Regions from separate parts of the Homo sapiens genome. Here region 2 is linked to region 1. Evidence: promoter capture Hi-C in 16 types of primary human blood cells and fetal thymus (Javierre and others, 2016). All regions are on one chromosome and are shown on one strand. Each heading gives the region's core, a stretch centred on a gene start or on the middle of the fragment in contact. The rest is flanking DNA. Distances are from core to core; before and after follow the strand shown. Region 1 holds the start of SLC26A9 (solute carrier family 26 member 9). Region 2 overlaps RHEX (regulator of hemoglobinization and erythroid cell expansion).

The links. The method cuts DNA at HindIII sites, captures the fragments that hold promoters and counts their contacts. A CHiCAGO score of 5 or more calls a contact.
Region 2: a fragment that was not itself captured here is called in contact with the fragment with the promoter of SLC26A9 in region 1 in 3 of 17 cell types (M0 macrophages, naive CD8 T cells and M2 macrophages); the score reaches 6.8 in M0 macrophages.

Annotation. Positions count from the first base shown.
Region 1 is chr1:205,942,176-205,946,009 of GRCh38, forward strand. SLC26A9 (solute carrier family 26 member 9) reads right to left here and starts at 1,281. Exons shown (of 21, transcript NM_052934.4): 1 at 1,190-1,281. The region is part of intron 2 of SLC26A9-AS1 (SLC26A9 and RAB7B antisense RNA 1); the gene reads left to right. The HindIII fragment of the contact is 4,358 bases long and covers 349-3,834 here.
Region 2 is chr1:206,092,372-206,095,700 of GRCh38, forward strand. The region is part of intron 1 of RHEX (regulator of hemoglobinization and erythroid cell expansion); the gene reads left to right. Among named protein-coding and RNA genes, the nearest start is that of AVPR1B, 23 kb to the right of the region's middle. The HindIII fragment of the contact is 3,685 bases long and covers 199-3,329 here.

The DNA.
Region 1 (3,834 bases), core at 31-2,530:
GGAGTCCGTCTCTGCCCCAGGGTTTATACAAATGAGACTCAGAGAGCAGGTGGCTAGCTCTGGGAAGTGCCTGGGAAGGCCTTCCTGGCAGTGGAGGTGCTCTTGGCCATGCTGGTCTCCATGCTGCCCAAGCAGGGTCTTGCCAGGTTCTGGATGCCAGGGCCAGGATGAGGGAGGTGGGGGAGGACTGTGGGGTTCTGAGAAAGGGTCATCTGCATGAGTGAAGCCACTCAGGGGGAAAGCCCTCTCTCAGTCTGCCCACTTGGGGGGCTGCGTCACTCCAGGGTCTTCTGGTCCTCAGACCCGTGGGGCCAAGTGTAAGGGGGCAGTTGATGCTGGAATAATAGAAGCTTTGTTAGGTCTCAGCTGGGGACCCTCTGGGCTGGTTTTGAGGAATGGGGGCACTGCCTGAGAGTGGCTTGGAACCCCTTGGAGCTGCAGGATGAGGGGTTTGGAGGCTGAGAGCCTGGAGAGCTGGCTGCCCATCCACTGTCCTGGCCCAAGCCCTTCTGTGTTGAAGCATTCACCATTGAGTCGGGCGTCCCAGGTCCAGCTACCGCCCACCCGCCTGCCTGATGGAGCTGGTCCCTTGCTCACCCTCTCCCACTCCTCAGTTTCCTCCCCCTCCACCTCTTCCAACTTCTCAGGACTAATGGGGACACATGGGATTCTGTGTAGTCCATGCTAAGTTCCCCGAGCTGGTGGAGAAGTACATGAGTGAAGGAGGATGTCTGGGCGGTAGAAGGAGGGGGAGACAGCCATGCAGAGTAGGCTGGTGAGTCAAGCATTAAGAGCTTTTCCCTCCAAGACTTGAAAAGAAAGGGAGAGGAGCAGCCCACAGCTTCAAAGGCTGTCGCGGAGGAAGGTCTAACATTTTCCTTTCCCTCGGAGGCCTTTGCCTCGCTCTGTTTCGGGGTCTGGCGACCACCACACCCTCACCCTACTTGCTCCCTCAGTCAAGCCCAGCCTTGCAGCCCAGGTCCTTACATAGACGTGAAGACCCAAAGGGCTCCTCAGAGGGGAAGGGCTGGGAGGCTGCTCTCAGACTCCAGGGGCCAGAGTGTCCTTCCTACTTGTGCTCAGCTTGGCAGTTGGTTCCTGTCATCCCTCCTCTCGGTACCCCTGGTGACTGCCCTCTTGCAGGGATGACCCCAGCCCAGTGGGGTGGGCTGGGCTGGGTGGGGCTTACCAGTGGGTGAGCAAAGCCGGCTGGGCAGGGCTGCAGGTGTGTCTGGGGAGCGGGCAGCCGAAAGGTGTTCCTGAGGTGTGTGAAAGGGCTCTGCTCAAATAATCCAGGGAGGCGTTTATAAATAACTTTTCCTCAGGGCCACGGGGTGAGCCCCGGCTTCTGATTGGCTCAGAGGGGAAGTGGTTTTGAACACTACACCATAGCTAAGCCTGAGGAGATAGGAAAAGGAGATAAGGGGGAAAAGGTCCCAAATGAACAGCCCTTTTTTTGTTTTACCTGGGGAGCAGGGCTGTGTGATGGGAGCTTGGCACTTCCTAAATCCACCCCGAAGACAATAGGTCACATTCAGCGGGGCTCCTGCCCCACCGGCTCCCCCAAGGCGGCCCTGGAGGAGGGGGACGAGGCAGAGGAGGGGGACAAGGCAGGACAAGCTCCTCTGAGCTTGCTGTCCTGCTGCTTATGGGGCTGGGGGTCAGGCCAAAGAGCCTCTTGGACAATGGGAGCTATTGAGGCCACCTGAGGGGTGTGCTCTTGGGGATGCTTGCTTTGAAGATTGGAGATCTAGGGGGTGGGAAGACAGTAGTCCTCTGAACACCCCTGAGGAAGGGGAAGAACCATGTCTGGGAGGCCCTGGGAGCCTTTAGGCGGTTTTGGTTTGTGGTGGAGACCTGGTTCCCAGTTCTGTCCCCAATGTTAAGTTGCTTGTGAGCTCTGTGCCTTGGTCTATCCATCAGTGCAATGGGGGAAATTATTCCTGGCCCCTCAGGTAGTGTGCAAAGAGAACACAGGGGTTTAGAATCTGATAAAAGAGCTCAAGAAACTGGACTTAGAACAATTATATGAGAGGCGACCTGAAGGCTAGCAAATCTCCAGTCACAGCCCTCTGCCGCTTCTAGGAATTAATGTCTCCCTGGGTCATGGCACTGCTCCGGCTGCTGCCAGCAGAGCTGCCCATCCCAGGCCCATTGAGTGCTACGGAAGGACCTCAGAAAGCAATTGTGGACAGGGGCTGGGAGGGTGGGTAGGGGAGTTTCTTAATTTACTTCCTGGGAGGGAGAGTCACTACCCGACACCAGGTGCCCATTCTTTGAGACATCAAGTGCTGCACTGTCCTCGTCCTCAACTGTCCTCCCATCTCTCCAAAAGAAACCAGAGGCTCTGAAGTGGGCTGGAATCAGTGCAGGGGGCTTCAGTAAGGCACCTCTGGAAGTTGGGGCGAAAGTTCCCCATGGTGAAATGAGCTAGCTTCAGTACTTAATAGGGACTCAATAAATATTTGTTAAATGAATGAAAGAGTGAATTGTCTGCAAGCCCAACCCAAGGGATAGTTTGTAGATGCATTGCTTGTGGGGACTAGGGAAACACCCGAGGTCACTCAGAGTTGTCAGGGTGTAGCCAGACAACTGGCTGAAGAGAGCCAGAATTCAAGTGACCCAAGTGTGCCCTGACACCTGGCTGAGGGAAGGATGTGTGCATGGACACTGCCTCGGGGAGCCCTTCCCCAGACCCCTATGTGGACTTAGCTGACATGTTGCACATTCGTTCCTCTGGCTTCCTCTGCTTCACTCTCATAACACTGACCACAATTAATGGTAATTATGTATGGAATTGTCAGTCTTTCTGCAAACACCGTGAACTCCCTGAGGAGGGCAAGGGGGCAGTGCCTCTTTTGTATCCCTACCCACCTAGCCCAGTGCCCGGCACTTAGGAGGAGCTCAATATAGATTTGAGGAATGAATGAACAATTGTATGATAGAGTCTTTAAACAAAGCAAAGCCAGAGGGCGAGAATTTGTCCATGCATCTTCAGTATTGTCCAGTGTCATGGGTAGCCTGACCTGTTCTAAACTTTGCCCAGGAAATTCCTAGAAAGCAGATGAGTCATTATGTTCTTCCGATAGCCAGGTGACAGTGGCTATCAAGATCAAACAACTAAGTCCCCTTGCTGAGACACCATGTCCACCAGGGAATCTTCTGGTTGTATGTCCTTTAGGGCAGAGAATGCACTGCCCAGCTGGTTGGAGCGACTAGGGCTGCTTTTGCAGGCATGCTTCTCTTTTAAATGACCCATGGACATTCTGGGCTACCCATTGGTCCAGTGTGAGTTTTATTAATGTGAGTTAGTATCCCCTGAGTCTGACCTAGTTTCCACAGTAACACTTGGTTTTCCCACAGGTGATTTGGTTTAATTCTTATACCAAACATATAGGCATGTTACTGTCATTTTTTGATGAGAAAACTGAGTTGACTGAAGTGAAATCACTTATCCAAGATCACAAAGATCTGAATGGAAGAGGCAGGAATCTAACTTGGCTAAAATGGCTTCAAATCCTCTGCTTAGTCTACGATATCATCTTAACCTTTGAGCCTGCGAAGCTAAGGATGAGATCCTACAAAAGACCATACCTTTTAGATACCATTAGGCTCCCTTGCTGGTATAACTCCTAATGTAACCTGGATGAAGACGTCTGGGGCCTCCAGGATACATGCTGGAATTGGAAACTTGTTGTTTGTCCTCCTCAAAACTTTTCTACTGTCTCAGCAAAATTCTGGGCAGGTAGCCCTTGCATTATAGGGGCAGTAGGGATAGACGAACCCAGAGATTCCTCTGAAGTCACCAAGGAAGATGGACAGGGGCCTCAGAAT
Region 2 (3,329 bases), core at 791-3,290, 150 kb after region 1:
ATTAGTTACTGTTCCCATCTTACATATTAAAAGACTGAGGCTTTGAGAGGTTAAATAGCCAGGCCAAGCTCATGCAGAGAATGAGCTGGGATTTGAACCCAAGCAGTCTGACTCCAGGTTCTTTGTCTTTAGTGGCTAGATACCATGCTCCTTCCTAAACTTATTTCTTGTTATTTTGGTTTGGTTTTGGTCTAAGCTTTCCGTGCCATATGGAATCAATTTTGTTAATTTATACTTTTCTAGGAAACTATCCATTTTACTGAGATTTCATCAAAAAAAATTTTGTAGTCTAACTTTTTTTAAAACCTCTTCTTTTTTTTGGTACCCCATTTTTGTTGAAAAATGTTAATCCCTTCTGTTTCTGAGATTAATAGTCCCTATATTATTAATTTGGTTTATTTGTGTTTCCTCCTTTTCTTGATTATTGGAAACTGCATATTAAACTGGGAGAGAAAGTCTAGCAATGTGGAGGAGGCTGAATGTTACAAAATGGAAATAAAGATTTTTTTATTTTTAAATTTTCCATTTCCATCCAGCTTTGCTTTCTTTTCGCCTTACTTCACCCCAGCCTTTAAAGAGCAGGATGCTCAGGGCTGAAAAGAGCCTTAGGAGTACTTTGCCAAGCTCCCTAATTCACCAGGGCCTAGAGGGGACATCTCCCTGTCCAAAGTCACACCGTTAGCAAGTGACAGAGCCAGGAGAAGGCAGGCCCTAGCTCCCTTCTTTCCCCTTCTTTTGTTCTCCCTTCTTTTTGTTCTCTTTCCATTATACCTTAGCTAATGTTAAAAACAACAAATTAATGGAGACAGCAAAGAAAGTTTACAGCTACTTCATTTGAAAAGATTAATAAAGTCAGTTGACAATGTTGATTATAATTACTTTGATCCATATGATTTTTCTTTTTTTTTTTTTCCTTTTCAGACAGAGTCTTGCTCTGTCACACAGGCTGGAGTACAGTGGCGTGATCTCAGCTCACTGCAACCTCCGCTTCCTGGGTTCAAGCAATTCTCTGCCTCAACCTCTCGAGTAGCTAGGATTACAGGTGCCTGCCACCATGCCCGGCTAATTTTTGTATTTTTAGTAGAGACGGGGTTTCACCATCTTGGCCAGGCTGGTCTTGAACTCCCGACCTCATGATCCACCCACCTCGGCCTCCCAAAGTGCTGGGATTACAGGTGTGGGCTACTGCGCCTAGCCTAATCCATATGATTTTTCATAGAAATCATCTTCTATTGTGATCTTGTTTTAAACCGTTCTTTCTAGAATAAACCTATCCAAAGAAAGCATGGTGTATGGCAGGAAAGTGGGCATCTTTTTATTCTCCCCCTGATATTACGCTGTACCTATTGGAAAGGCCATGAGAAAGCTCCTGTATCAGTGGAGGAGGGAAACTTAATAAAATGGAATCCAGCCTTAACTCAAGTCTGAAGCAAACAAAATAAATGCTCTTAGCACTGGGACGAAGTAGGGTTTTTTTTGGTCGGGGGAGGAGGGACAGGGTTTTACTCTGTCACCCAGGCTCTTCTCAAACTCCTGGTCTCAAGTGATTCTTCCACCTCGCTCTCCCAAAGTGCTGAGATTACAAGCATGAGCCACCGTGCCCAGCCTAAAGTTTGGTTTTGAGGTGCCTGGCAGGGCACTACATTAGTGTGGGGGCTGGATGTCAAAATTCAGCACAGTGGAAGAGGACAGAACCGTCCCTACCTCGAGGATGGAACGAGGCACACCAAACCCTCACACAGTCCATGCGCTTTTTCACAACATAATTACCTTAAATTGCCCATTTCCTGGTTATTTGGTGTGTGTGTGTGTGTGTGTGTGTGTGTGTCACGTGCACGCGCAAATGAGCAGATGTCTCTGCTGATTGTCTGATCAGCAGTCTGCAATTAGACCCCAAGGAACAACCTGCTCATTGTGGTTAGGGGCCATTAGCCACTTAAATAATGACATCTGTCATAATTTTCATACCTTGGATCTTATCTCCAAACTGTACTCAAAACAAATGCCTAAGTTTTCTAAAATAGACCAATCCAATTTTTAATAGTTCTAGTCACCATCGTGGTGGAGGATTTTAGGGTTGAATAATACCTAATAATTACTGAGTGCCTCGTATATGCCTGGAATTGTATAAAGGTCTTTACAAACAGCATAAATCACTGAGCTCATGCAAGAACTCTGTGAAGTAGGAAACTATTATTCTTCTCACTTTATAGATACTGAAATTATTAAACTGAGACACTGAATTCAATAATTAACATCTAGAAGGGAACTGAACTGAAATTAGTATTTAAGAATGTTGGACGTCCGTATTATTTACTGTTTTCATTTGGATGAGCTGCTGTGTGTCATTTGGCTAGTAAGGGAGACAGGGTCTTACTCTGTCACCGGGCTCTTCTCAAACTCCCGGCCTCGGTGATCCTTCCACCTCGCTATCCCAAAGTGTACGCTCTGAGTATATGCTCAGAATATATTAAAATGTGGAAGATGGTGTAGGCAATCTAGTTTTGTATAAAGGGCCAAAATAAGGCATTAATCTTAAAATAATGGAACATATATCAAATTCAGTGATTCTCAACTGAGAGCAAACCCTCCTACCTCAGGGGGCTTTGGAAATGTGTGGGGTCATTTGGGGTCCCTTTGGCCATTACACTGGCCTGTTACACTGGGGGGCTTTCAGGAGGCTCCACAACCTGCCGTCTGCAAGACAGTTTTAGACAATAAGGACTTGTCTGGCTCCAAATGTCAGATACTACCGAGAAACACTGATCAAGGGCAATGGTAGGAATTCGAAATGATACCGTAAAACTCAAAGGTGGCAAACTCAAATGCCTTTAGGGATTAGTCAGGAAGTGAACAAATCATGTCCCAGTTTAGGGGCATACAAATTCAAATCACTAAAGCACTTCATCAGACAAAAATTAGGTGTCAAATGTGGCCTGTGGATCGCCTGGTTGGAGCCTTTTAGGGGAGGTTTTTCCTGACCAAAAAAACATGTTTACGATATATTAAGAGTAAAAAAATAGCTAACAATCTGTATGATTCCATGTTTTAAAGACATTGTCTCTGTGTACACACATTATTTGCATATATACATGCACTTATATCCATGAAAATATTTAGAAAATTTTCTGGAAGGATATGGAATAAGATTTGGGGTAATTTTGGCTGGGCGCGGTGGCTCACGCCTGTAATCCCAGCACTTTGGGAGGCCAAGGCAGGCGGATCACCTGAGGTTGGGAGTTCGAGACCAGCCTGACCAACATGGAGAAACCCCGTCTCTACTGAAAATACAAAATTAGCAGGGCATGGTGGTGCATACCTGAAATCCC